Linked DNA regions of Homo sapiens: region 2 is linked to region 1. Evidence: promoter capture Hi-C in human tissues and cell types (Jung and others, 2019). All regions are on one chromosome and are shown on one strand. The core of a region is centred on a gene start or on the middle of the fragment in contact, and the rest is flanking DNA. Distances in the headings are between cores, read along the strand shown. Region 1 holds the start of HPGDS (hematopoietic prostaglandin D synthase). Region 2 has its middle 52 kb from the start of PDLIM5.

Region 1 (7,145 bases), core at 3,421-5,920:
GTAATCCCGGCACTTTGGGAGGCCGAGGCGGGCAGATCACTTGAGGTCAGGAGTTTGAGACCAGCCTGGCCAACATGGTGAAACCCCGTCTCTACAAAAAAATATACAAATTAGCTGGATGTGGTGGTGTGAGCCTGTAATTCCAGCTACTCAGGTGGCTAAGGCACGAGAATTGCTTGAACCTGGGAGGCAGAGGTTGCAGTGAGCCAAGACCGCGACACTTCACTCCAGCCTGGGCGACAGTGAGACACTCTCTCTCAAAAATAAGAAACAGAATTATCATGAAACATACTATCATCTCAATAGATACTAAATGCTTTTAAAAAGCATTTATAACATTATCACTCATTTGTGATCAAAATTCTTAGCAAAATGAAAAAACAAAATAAAATACCTCTTATCAAACTAGCAATAGAAGAATACTTCCTTAACCATATAAAGAGTCTCTACTAAAAACTTATAGCAAATATAATACATAATGGTGAATCAATAAAAGCATTTTCTTTAATGTCAGAAGTAACAAGAATCCCACTATAACATCTACTATTCAGCATAATGCTGGACAGCCTAGCTAATTCAATAATGTAAGACAACAATAAATAACATTTGTTAAGTAGTAGGAAGGGAGCGACACAGCATCCATTTGCTGTGTCCAAAATGATTGTCTATATTTAAACTTCGAGAGATTCTACAGATAAACTGGATCCTAGATTTCAAATGGAAATGCTAAGGACCAAAATAGCCAAGACAAAGAAAAAAAGAGAACAGGAGAGGAGGACCTGATGTACCAGATAGCAAGACTTAGATAAAAAGCCTTGTAATGCGGTATTTGCTCAGAGGTGCATTGTCTTAAAACAGAACCTCATATATAGGACAGACATGACATAGAGTGAGGACTAAATGGTTCTGAGACTGAAACTAGACTAAAATGGTTCTGAGACAATAGAGGGAAAATAAGCATAATTAGACCCCAACTTTCTATCAAACACAGAAATAACATCTAGGTTATCTTGGTATGATTTGACTAGCATAGCAAAACTGCAGTATCATTCTGGTCCCTTATTTCCTGTTAGCTTCATTTCTGAACCCTTCCACTGTCGTTGTGTTAAGAATCTCATGTAGAGAAAACTGCATGTTTCCTGAAATGATACAGAAGCCTGAAGTTTAAAAGCTGATTGTGTTTGAAGATATTTACATCTAAAGATCTTTGCATCTAAAATTAACCACTGGCTTCCTTACACCCCAAAGTATATCGTGTAAAGTTACTAATTCAGCAGATAGATAAAAAGCTCATTTAGAATTCTGTTTGAAAAATAACCTATACGGTTTATCAAAGAACACATAAACGACTAATAAATACCCTGGATAAAAACTTAGACATATAAACTCATATGAACATAGCTATCCACTGCAGAAGATTTAACTTTTAATATTAATATATGCATTAGGAAATAAGCTCTTTTATATGGGAAATAACAGTGTTTTTAAAGTACTATCTTGGGTACTTCCTTTCTTTCTCTTTCTTTCTTGTAGCTTTTTTTTACTTTATAGAATGCTTGTTATGGTTTGGCTATATCCCCACCAGAATCTCATCTTGAATTGTAGCTCCCATAATTCCCACTTGTCATGGGAGGGACCCGGTGGGAGATAATTGAATCATGGGGGCGGTTTCCCCCATACTGACTTCATGGTAGTAAATAAGTCTCACGAGATCTGATCATTTTATAAGGGATTTCCCCTTTAACTTGGCTCTGGTTCTGTCTTGCCTGCTGCCATGTAAGACATCCCTTCCTCTTCCGCTATGATGGTGAGGTCTCCCCAGCCATGTGGAACTGCAGTGCAGTGGCGCAATCTGGGCTCACTGAAATCTCCGCCTCCTGGGTTCAAGCGATTATCCTGCCTCAGTCTCCCAAGTAGCTAGGATTATAGGTGTGCGCCACCACATACAGCTAATTTTTGTATTTTATTTTTTAGTGGAGATGGGGTTTCACCATGTTGGCCAGGATGGTCTCGATCATCTGACCTTGTGATCCGCCTGCCTGGGCCTCCCAAAGTGCTGGGATTACAGGTGTGAGCCACTGTGCCTGGTCTAAACCTTTCTTTCTTTCTTTCTTTCTTTCTTTCTTTCTTTCTTTCTTTCTTTCTCTTTTTTTTTTTTTTTTTTTTTTTTTTTTTTTTTTTTTTTTTTTTTGAGACGGAGTCTCTCTCTGTCGCCCAGGCTGGAGTGCAGTGGCGTGATCTCCACTCACTGCAAGCTCCACCTCCCGGGTTCACGCCATTCTCCTGCCTCAGCTTCCCGAGTAGCTGGGACTACAGGCACGCGCCACCACGCCCAGCTAATTTTTTTGTATATTTAATAGAGATGGGGTTTCCCCGTGTTAGCCGGGGTGGTCTCGATCTCCTGACCTCGTGATCCGCCTGCCTCAGCCTCCCAAAGTGCTGGGTTTACAGGGGTGAGCCACCGGGCCCGGCCCGCCCCCCTCCCTTTTTTTTTTTTTTTTTTTTTTTTTGAGACGGAGTTTTACTCTTGTCGCCCAGCCTGGAGTGCAATGGCGTGATCTCGTCTCACCGCAGCCTCTGCCTCCCGGGTTCAAGCGATTCTCCTGCCGCAGCCACCAGAGTAGCTGGGATTACAGGCACCAACCACCACGCCCGGCAAATTTTTTTCTTTTTTTTTTTCTTTCTTTTTTTTTTTTTGAGACGGAGTCTTGCTCTGTCGCCCAGGCTGGAGTGCAGTGGCGCAATCTCGGCTCACTGCAGCATCCGCCTCCCGGGTTCAAGCGATTCTCCCTGCCTCAGCCTCCCCAGTAGCTGGGATTACAGACGCCCACCACCGCGCCCAGCTAATTTTTGTATTTTTAGTAGAGACGTGGTTTCGCCATGTTGGCCAGGACCTCCTAACCTCAGGTGATCCGCCAGCCTCGGCCTCCCAAAATGTTGGGATTACAGGCTGAGCCACCTCGCCCGGCCAAACTTTTTTTTCTTTATAAATTACCCAGTCTCAGGTATGTCTTAATCAGCAGCGTGAAAACTAACTAATACAATGCTGATTTATTTCATCTGATTAATTCAATCCCAGAGGCAATTTTAACATAATCATTGAAAAAATTACAAACTTTTATAATAAAACAATTTAACAATATATTATTCCGTATACTGCTGTAAAAGCACAGTAAAAAATAGTCTCAAAAATTCTAGTCTCTGTGCCAGAAAGATGACAACAATCCAATTTCAACTCTCTGACAACACAGGCTAATCAATATCCAATGCCTATACTAAACATCTTAATAAAGACTTCAGCCGAAATATTTTTAGTTCAAAAAAGAGAACTTTTGGAATAATTTTGTTAGATAGAAAACTTACAAATGAGGAATTAAGTATTGACCATTCTACAGTTCAATACAAAATGTTAGCCAACGTAAGCTCTTACTCTTAAATACGACACATCAAGAATTCAAACATATTTGGGCATTCCAGACACAGTTTTTTACATGCTTAGTAATTGCGCAATAATCTGAGTTAGAGATATAAAAACAAAGATTACTTGTGAATTTGCTATAGCTCTTCTTTGAGTTTAAGATGCAGATCTTAACTTGCCCAGTAATAAACTTATACAAAATGTAATGGCCTAGAGCATGTTTACACTCCTATTATATAGACCCTGGTGTTCTGAAATGTAAAAATTGGATTCAGACAGCAATCATGTGAGATACTATTGTTCACAGGGGAACTTCTTGCATATACTGACATTAAAACAGCTTTTTATTACCCCTAACATTTGATGGTAAAGAATGTTAATTTCCCTCATTTCACAGTGTCCCTGGGCATTTCAAGTTCAATTCTGGAAAAGTTGCCAGGTTGGAGTTAAATTATAGGACAATAGAGAAATAGAAGAATTGTTGTTGACTGAGTAAGATATTGATTTCAATCAAGCACTGGATGTTTAACTTTGAATTAGCAAGCTGAAAGCTCTATTTTTTTTTTTTTTATCAAATATCAACTAAATGTCATTTTAAGTGACTGTTTCACATTAAAGCCAAAGCAAGAGGAATAACTGAAATATCCTTTGGGAGCTGTGAGTTGAAATTCCTGGCCTGGGGTAAATCCCTTAAACCATCTCTGAAGCCAAAAGATGATAGGTTGCAATTCTTATCAAAACATGGAGATGCTTCAACAAAATGTGCCTTAAAATAATATAAAATATTACCAGTAAAAGTCTTAAACTTTAAAGCAAAGGAAAGAAATTGAACAGCCATGAGATAATATTCTCTACTCCATCAATCCAAGTTATTGAAGAATCACTTGGGAAAATTCTGGAAGTAGTAACAAACCCTGATTAAGACAGGATTTTTCCTCTAGCATTGATTATATTTTCTATGTTAAAATCCACTTGAAGAGATCTTCTTAAATCTCCTGTACCTATATTTCCTTAAAAATGACTATTTGAGTTTCACATATTCGCATATATGGAGAGGTTCTGGGTAAGACAAGGTCAGAGTGAGCACCATCATGAAAATAGCTCACAAGACAGTTAGTCACAAACAGGATATGAGAATAATAAAAACTCTGAAGTAAAGAGTAAAGCATATCTCATTTATTACCTATGTGGAGTTCAGTAATATGACTTACCTGTGTTATGTCTCTCGGGAGTCTGCAGTGTCTTGTATCCCTGGGTATGTGACTGTGCCTTGGGTTTATATGACGAGTAAGTGATAATCACGAGCCAGTGAGAGGACAGGCAACTTCCTTCTACCTAACGCTCTTCCTTCTTTTCTTAGATAAAACATGCATGCCAGGCAGTTCAAGCCTGCGAAGACTGCTGGTTATACAGGATATCTGGGTATAAATAAACCAACACATTTGTATACAAGGTAAAGTCAAAGTTATAGCTGCATATGTATGCCCACTGTTACATGTTCACTTATTTTCAGTTTTACACCATAGGCTCCTGGAGAATAAGAAAACCTGAATGTAATGAAATCATCTTTGCAGATGTGCACATGACTTGCTTCTCTATTTTAGAAACAGTCTCTCCTGTACCTGCTGTATGTTCCTTCGAGGCAGTGTCTAACAATGTGGTGTATTTAACTTGTTTGTTTTTGGTTTCTCCCAGTGGAATGTAAGCTCTGTAAAGGCAGGCACTTCACTGTCTTTTTCACTATTGTCTCCTCAGTTCTAAGAGGAGTGCCAGGCATGTCATGACCACTAATATACATCTGATGATAGAATAACCCTAATTTATAGTTCACGTTTTTGCAAGGACTGTAAATTTGCATTGTTGCTGGTTTATTTCATTTACTCTCATTTCTCAGAAAAGCCAAAGTGTTTAAAGTAAACCTGGTGTAGAAGTTTCCAATTCATCTTGTTTGTGATCCTTTTACAATTTAGTAACAAATGCCTGACATTTTAGAAATTTATTGTTTCACTTCTTAGTGCAGGAATTATTTTTATCTATAATATTAGGACAGCTCAGTGAAAAGATCCAATAAAATGCCTGCCTGGGCCTTACTGAGCCTGAGGATTATCCATGAAACATTTCAATGACCAGCTGGCTTTCAACTTCCAGAAAATTACTCCCACAGGCAACAATAGCAACATATCAATCATTTAATATTTCTTATTTCTAAAGTGCTTTTAATTTTGAAAAATATGTTTACATCCACTTAGTATAAACGTCAGAAATGAAAATAAATGTAAATACTAGTATGTAAAAAGAGAAGACGCAAGTGTAGCCCTTTACCCACCAAAAAAGGATACATGTGTGTCAAAATCAAGTGCAAATGGGATGGGAGTGGGAGCTATACAAAATTAACACAATGCATTTATTATCTTTGACAGCTTTAACTTATATTTTCAAAAAAATCTTTTTATCCTCACCTCAATGATTTTTAATCCCTATTTTTATAAATGAGGAAACTGAGACATAGGGAAATTAGGTAAATTGCCTGCGAATTTTTGTTGGGACAAGCTAGGATTAAAATCTAGGCCTTCTGATGACACATTTAATATTTTTCCTTACATAATGCTGCCTATATATAATACGAGACTGCTTCAGTTAAAAAAAAATCAAGTATACAAAAAATAACACTTTTCTCATTTTGTATTACAATTTTATCTTTTACGACCAGTTGTTTTGGCTGGAGGAAAGCAGAGTAACACATCAAGGATTGGGGAAGGAGCAGCCACTTGATCCTTGGTCACCGATCAACAGAGGCTGCTCTAGAGGCATCCATTGTCCTTGTGTGCATGGCCTCCACGCCAGGAGCTCTCTGCAGCTCCTGTAGCATTCTCATTTTGCTACCTTCTTGCCCCAGTGTGGTGGTTTCATCACAACGCTGCCTGAGATTCCACCTGCCCAGTACCCAACAGAGCCACTTCTTCTCTGTGGTCTTTCTACCTCCCTGGAGGCACAAGAGGGTCCCAGGAGAGGGTCCCAGATCTCCTCTACTCGGGAAGCACAGCTTTCCCATCCTCTTGTCTCTTCTCCCAGCCCAGGTGGGGGTGCTCTAACTCTCCTAGTCTTCTACCAGCTGTGGGCCTTTGGGCAGGTAACTTAATCTCTCTGTGCCTGAGCTCCTTCACCTTTAGATGGAGATTGATTCTACAATAAATATTTATTTGTTCCTAATCTTTGCCAGGTATTGTTCTGAACGCTAGAGATATAGCAGTAAATAAGGCTGGGCGCGGTGGCTCACTCCTGTAATCCCAGCACTTTGGGAGGCCGAGGCAGGTGGATCACAAGGTCAGGAGATGGAGACCATCCTGGTCAACATGGTGAAACTCCATCTCTACTAAAAATACAAAAATCAGCCAGGTGTGGTGGCCCACGCCTGTAATCCCAGCTACGCGGGAGTGTGAGGCAGGAGAATCGCTTGAACCCGGGAGGCAGAGATTGCAGTGAGCCGAGAGCGTGCCACTACACTCCAGCCTGGCGACAGAGCGAGACTCCATCTCAAAAATAAATAAGTAAATAAATAGAGATATAGCACTAAATAAAATCAGACAAAAACAAATCTTCATGGAGCATTCTAACAATATTAGTAATAACTCTCTCATAAGCTTTTACAGAATTAAATGAGTACACAGATATGTGCTTCAAAGTGTGCCTAATGCATAGTTAGGGATCCATGAGTGAGAGCAATTGT
Region 2 (7,145 bases), core at 3,112-5,611, 58 kb after region 1:
AGGTTGCAGTGAACGCCAAGATCAAAATCGAGCCACTGCATTCCAACCTGGGTGACAAAGCGAGACTCTGTCTCAACAACAACAAAACAAGAAAATAGAAAGAATTCACATTTGCTCCATTAAATTATGTTAAAGTGATTGGAATTTTTGTTTTCTTCTGTCCTATTTCTAGAAAAGGTCATTAATTGTTCGTCACATATTTAAACTTCAAAATACAGACAATCTGTATTACTAGAATTTTTTTTTAGTAACGGGAAAACAAAAATACCTTAAAACTTAAAATCACAAAAAACATACATATTTGTGTATATATATATATACTTTTTTTTTTTTGAGATGGAGTCTCGCTCTGTAGCCCAGACTGGAGCGCAGTGGCGCAATCTCGGCTCACCGCAAGCTCTCCCTCCCGGGTTCGTGCCGTTCTCCTACCTCAGCCTCCCGAGTAGCTGGGACTCCAGGCTCCCGCCACCATGCCCGGCTAATTTTTTTTTTCTTTTTGTAGAGATGGGGTTTCACCGTGTGTTAGCCAGGATGGTCTCGATCTCCTGACCTCGTGATCTGCCCTCCTCGGCCTCCCAAAGTGCTTGGATTACAGGCATGAGCCACCACACCTGGTCACAGAAAAGATATTTTTTAAGCAAAGACTTCTTGAAAATATATACTAAATTTAAACAAAAATACTAAAAGTTATTATTGAACTAACATTGTAACATGTATTATTTTGCAAGAAATTGCTGACTTTCAAAAAATTAATTTTTTTAGATTGTAAAGTTAGTACATGTGTATTGCAGAAAGTTTAGCAAGAAAGAAGATAAGAGATGGTCAAGTAGGGGTCAAGGGGAAAGGGAATGTCCTGCAAGTCTGGGGAAGCAATATCTTCAAGGCCTGGGCCATTAATAAGCATGAAGGTAATCCTTGGTGTGCATATTACTCAATCCCATATGATATCAAGATTGGTGACACTGGCTTCAGCTGACTTCCTTGACACCTTAAGTTTTCTTCATGTCTCTTTAGACATTCCCTCTCAGTTTGTTTTGCAGGTTCATCTTGTGTATTAGGCCATTCTTGCACTGCTGTAAAGAAATACCTGAGACTGGGTAATTTACAAGAAAAGAGGTTTAATTGGCTCATGGTTCTGCAGACTGTACAGGAAGCACAATGTTGGTGTCTGCTTCTGGGGAAGCCTCAGGATGCTTACAATCATGGCAGAAGGTGAAGGGGGAGCAGGTGTCTCACATGGTGGGAGCAGGAGCAAGAGACAGATAATGAGGTACCACATACTTTTAAGCAGTCAGATCTCTTGAGAAGGCATGCTCCATTGTGAGGACAGCACCAAGAGAATGGTGCTAAAGCATTCGTGAAAAATTCACCCCTATGATGCAATCATCTCCCACTAGGTCCCATCTCCAATACTGGAAATTACAATTCAACATGAGATTTGGATTGAGACACAGATCCAAACAATATCATCTTATTCAACTCATTCTTTTAATGTTGGTCTCCTTTGTGGTTATGTTTTAGGCCTTCTTTTCATTCTGCCCATCCTCCTGGATGGTTTGTTTGTTTGTTTTGCTTTGCTTTGAGACGGAGTCTTGGTCTGTCACCCAGGCTGGAGTGCAGTGGCACAATCTTGGCTCACTGAAACCTCTGCCCCCTGGGCTCAAGCTTCCCCAATAGCTGGGATTACAGGCGTGTGCCAGCACGCCTGGCTAATTTTTGTATTTTTAACAGAGATGAGGTTTTACCTTGTTGGCCAGGTTGGTCTCGAACTCCTGACCTCAAGTGATCTGCCCACCTTGGCCTCCCAAAGTTCTGGGATTACAGGCTTAAGCTACCATGCCCGGCCATCTGGATGGTTTTATTCATGCTCAGGATTTTAATTACAGTCTGTACGCTGATGACTTTCAGATCCTTTTCTGGAATATGAATTTCTCTCTAGTGCGCCGTATCCACATATGCAAAATAAATATTGCCACCATCCACTAGTTGGCCTGGAAGGAATTTCAGCATCGTCTTTCACTCTTCTCTCTCTCTCTTTCCCCAGTAACTACCAAGTCTTTTAGGGTTCACTTTCTAAATCTCTCTCAAGTCTGTCAACTTCTCTCAATCTCTTGATTTAAATCTCCGGCATTCCTTCTGGGATCCTTGCCATAGCTTCTTAATTATATACCTATCAGTATATCCCTGCTCTGATGATTTCCAAAGGCAGACAGAGTGATTTTTATACATCTGCCCCCTACTTAGAAATCGACAGTGACTCCTCATGGTTCCCAGGGTAAAGTTACAAATCCTAGTGAGGATGAGCATTGCCTTCAATACTTGACATCTCCAACCTCACCTCTTCTCACATTACCCCAGTCTCTAGGCTCACATCATGCTTTCTCTAACCTTTGGGGTCTTGTTTATGCTCATGTCTCTCTGCCCAAAATATTTTCCACCTTTCTTTTGCCCCCTCTTCCCTCCTCCATTTCTGATCTTGAACTTGTAACTCCTACTTATCCTTCAGTTCTTAGCTCAGATATTACTTTCACTTGAAAGTTTCCTGGGCCAAAAGATTGAATTGTATGTCTCTTTTATATGCTTCCATAGCACCTTGTACTTAATCTCCTCCTAAAACTGGTTATACTCCTGTACTGGGCTTATTGTAACTATCTATACACTCGTTTGTAGCCTATATAAGATGTAAAATGCTGCGTCGGGTCAGGATTGTGTCTTTTTTACTGTAACTTCTCTAGTAAATGCCTGGCACATGGCACATAATAAATATTTGTTATATGAATGAATGAATGAACGGTACAATTCAGAGATCAGCATGACCTTTTAAAAACATATAATCAATTGAAATGAAAGAATCTATATTCATTCACTTAAAGGATGGCATTCTAAGCCTGCTAATAGGTGAACAAATTCAGACAGGACAATAAATTACCTCTTCTTTTCTTTTTAATTTTTAAGACTAAAAAAACCCAACATTTCAGAGATGGGGTCTTGCTACGTTGCCCAGGCTGGAGTGCAGTGCTATTCACAGGTATGATCATAGGGCATTATAGCCTCAAACTCCTGTGCTCCCTATCTCAACCTCTCAAGTAGCTAGGATTACAGGTGTGCACCACCATGTCTAGTCTCTTTCTTCTTATGTAATTATAAAATGTTAAAATTAAATCATTAATGATTGAGGCTGCATCGGGGGTAGGAGGGAAGTTCCCTGAATAACCACAAGAATATACTAAACTTCACTTATTTTGAGGTTTGCAATTATTTAGAAGTTCTTATTTAGTAAGTAAGAGAAGATAATTTGCCTTTGCCAGTTCTAAGTACATATATAGTTGATTAATATAAACTGATTAACAAAGTAAATAGGAAAGTTAATAAAGAGCCCACTCCTCATTCTTGGCCTGGAGCTTCAGAACTGAATTTAAATGCTAACTGACATAAGCCCCATCTGTCATTTCTGGTCATCGCCTCAGTTCTATAAATAGGAAGAAGCCAGGACTTACCTCATTACTTCCAACCAGCAACTGTATGAAGTGCTAAGGAATAAAATTGAACCAGGGACAGTTAAGTGTGTGGGCCCCTGGAAGGAGTAAGATCTACATTAAAATAACAAGCATTGCAATTTCATTCTCTTATTTATACAAGGGGGAAAACTGCAAAATCATATAAGAAATTAAATTTTTTAGCATTTCAAGAGAAACATTTTCCTCCCCTACCCCAGTTCCAGTTACAGGGTAAATATTTTTTAAATCAAAATGGGAAACATTATTTTTTTCTTAAGAGAGTTTTCTTTGTATACTTAATCATAGCTTATTCTTATTAGAGCTACATACTTTGGACTTGTCTATGTTAAGAGAGTTTTCATGCAAGTGTGTTCTGATTATGATTTTGATAACTGATGTTGAGTAATGATTACAGCATTTTCAAAGCCTTTTGTTTGCCTTTGCGTTCAACACAAGGCGTAGATAGAAAACGAACAGGAAGGTTTTATCTTATCTGGCTACAGTTTGCATCAGCAACTGAAAGCATAGCATACTTTTAAAGAAAGTACCATTTTAACTAGAATTTTCTCTCCCTGACCTTTATTTAACCAATAATTTTATTACTGGGCTATATATTTATCCCTTTTCCCCTCAAATTGTGTCAACTGCAGTGAAGCTTAATATTTCTAACTTTGAATTCAATTTTTATATTTAAGAATATCTATCTAGGAAAGAGACTACTATCTCTGAGTCCAGTCTCTATCATATACACAAAATTAATTCATCCTTTAAATCTGTACTTCCTACTAAAATCAATACTTTGAAAAAGATGTTTAAATCAATTCCTAAAACACCTAACATAACCATTCATCTTCTTATGGCATTTGAAACTGAGCATTTGCCTAATTTCAGATTGTTTTGCTTGTTTTCGTTGTCTGTTTTAATAAAATAGTATCTTTAACAGCTTGTATAAAGTTCCTGTAAAAAAGAAAATGTTTCTCTTGAAATAGTAAATATCTCAAATTAGTCTGTAGCATTCCAGAGTTTTTCCAGAAAATGGTGTTTTCTTATTTGTACACAAATACAATGGTAATGAAGTCAGAGAATGTCAGATAAGTTTTAAGTGGGGTCACTACGCTATATTCCAGATGATCCCAAAGCTCAGTCAGCAGAGAAAAGTGCTGGTAACAAAGGAGATAACTGAATGGTTTAAGTTTAAATTTTGCTTCTCCTACCCCAGGGGAAAAAAATTGCAGCACCATTTCCCTCATCTGTTATCACTTACTAATTGCCAAGTAGATAGCTCTCCACTGCAGTGAGACCTCATTTTAGAGCAGAAGAGTAGGTCAATACTACACTATTGTTTGAGACAGAGTCTCATTCTGTCATCCAGGCTGGAGTGCAGTGGCTCAATCTCAGCTCACCACAAGATCCTCCCACCTCAGCCCCATAGGCACCGCGCCACAACGCCCAGCTAAATTTTGTATATTTCACAGAGATGGGGTTTTGCCATATTGCCCAAGCTGGTCTCAGATTCCTGAACTCAAGTGATCTGCCCACCTTGGCCTCCCAAAGTGGTGAGATTACAGGCATGAGCCACTGCAAGTGGCCTAACACTACATTATTTCTAAGAATAATATTGGAAATCATTTATTCTTAGAATCTACTTATAAATTTTGCATGTGTTAGAAAATCTGATAAGCCTAAAGATTCCCACATTCATTGCTGGCCACTCAGTCTACAGCCCTCACTGAACACTTCCTTGCTTTTTCCTCCCTAATACTCCACAGTGGACTGAAGAGTAAATGCTTTCGGATAATGAATGATGACAGTGGAGTTGATGGAGTAACTGGCAACTCATTCTTGATGTCCAATAGACCTTTCATTTTGAACAACAGTGACCTAGATCTTTTATAAATGAAATGCTTAAATTGGTGAGTAGTGGCTCTTACCTTTTTTTTTCTTTTTCTTTTAAATAAAAATTCCAAATGTGCTGAAAAGGTACAAGAATGGTACAACTCATCTTTTACCTTTTACTTAAGATTCACCAAATTCTTAGCATTTCATTGTAACTGTTCTTTCTCTTTCCCCTCTCCATATATATGTATGTATATGTACATATATGTGCACTTAGTAGTAAATTTAGTATGGTATCTTGTTGAATCTTTCTTTTACGGCATCATGGTATAATTACAAAATTCAAGAAATTTGACATTGATGAATTACTATTATCTAATATGCATCCCACATTCAGATCTTGCCAATTGCCTCAGTATTGTTCTTTACGGAAACTTCTTAAAAATTGGAGGTCCAATCCAGTATATGCATATCATGAATTCCATATCTTTTTAAAGAAAAATAAATTATCTTTTTTTGTTGTTTTTGGCTTTTCTTTTTTAAAACTTATATTTTATGTTCAGAGGTACATGTAGATGTTTGTTAGATAGTCAAACTCATGTCATGGGGGTTTATTGTACAGATTATTTCATCACGTACTAAGTCGAGTACCCAATAATTATTTTTTCTGCTCCTCTCCCTCCTCCCACCCTCCATCCTTAAGTAGGCCTCAGTATCTGTTGTTTCCCTCTTTGTGTCCATGTGTTCCCAACTTTTAGCTACCACTTATAAGTGAGAACATGCGGTATTTAGTTTTCTGTTCCTGCATTAGTTTGCTAAAGATAATGTCCTCCAGCTCCATCCATGTTCCTACAAAGGACATGATCTTGTTCTTTTTTATGGCTGCATAGTATTCCGTGCTGTATATGTACCACGTTTTCATGAGCAAATCTGCCATTGATGGGCATTTAGGTTGATACCATGTCTTTTCTATTGTGAATAGTGCTGCAATGAACATACCCGTGCATGCATCTTTTTGGTGGAACAATTAATATCCTTTGGGTACATACCCAGTAATGAGATTGCTGGGTTGAACAGCAGTTCTGTTTTTAGCTCTTTGAGGAATTGCCACGCTGCTTCCTACAATGGTTGAACTAATCTACACTTTCGCCAATAGTGTATAAGCATCTCCTTTTCTCTGCAACTTTGCCAGCATCTGTTATTTTGTTATGACTTTTTAGTAATAGCCATCCTGACTGGTGTGAGATGGTATTTCATTGTGGTTTTGATTTGCAATTCCCTAATGATCAGTGATATTGAGCTTTTTTTCATATGCTTGTTGGCCACATTATATGTTTTCTTTTGAAAAGTATCTGTTCATGTCCTTTGACCTCTTCAAAAAGATTTATCTTACCTAAAATTAGAAAATGCAGGTGATGGCCAGGCATAGTGGCTCACACCTATAATCCCAGCACTTTGGGAGTGGGCAGATAACTTAGGCTCAGGAGTTTAAGACCAGCCTGGGCAACATAGTGAAACCCCATCTCTACAGATAAAAATAAAAATAACTAGCCAGGTGTTGTAGTGTGTGCCTGTGGTCCCAGCTACTCAGGAGGCTGAGGTGGCAGAATCGCTTGAGCCCGGGAGGCGGAGGTTACAGTGAGCTGAGATCATGCCACTGCACTCCAGCCTGGGCAATAGAGTGAGACCCTGTCTCAAAAAAAAAAAAAAAGAAAGAAAGAAAAGAAAAGAAAATTCAGGTGATATTGTGTGTAAAGATTGTTAATCTCATCCTCATGGTACCAAGAAAACAATATTAAAATTATTATTTAT

What was found. The method cuts DNA at HindIII sites, captures the fragments that hold promoters and counts their contacts. A contact is called where the count stands out against the background at its distance.
Region 2: a contact is called between a fragment that was not itself captured here and the fragment with the promoter of HPGDS in region 1, in 1 of the 25 tissues and cell types used here (H1 embryonic stem cells).

What each region holds. Positions count from the first base shown.
Region 1 is chr4:94,338,166-94,345,310 of GRCh38, forward strand. HPGDS (hematopoietic prostaglandin D synthase) reads right to left here and starts at 4,671. Exons shown (of 6, transcript NM_014485.3): 1 at 4,630-4,671. The HindIII fragment of the contact is 13,227 bases long and covers 1-7,145 here.
Region 2 is chr4:94,396,444-94,403,588 of GRCh38, forward strand. No RefSeq gene overlaps it. Among named protein-coding and RNA genes, the nearest start is that of PDLIM5, 52 kb to the right of the region's middle. The HindIII fragment of the contact is 7,601 bases long and covers 562-7,145 here.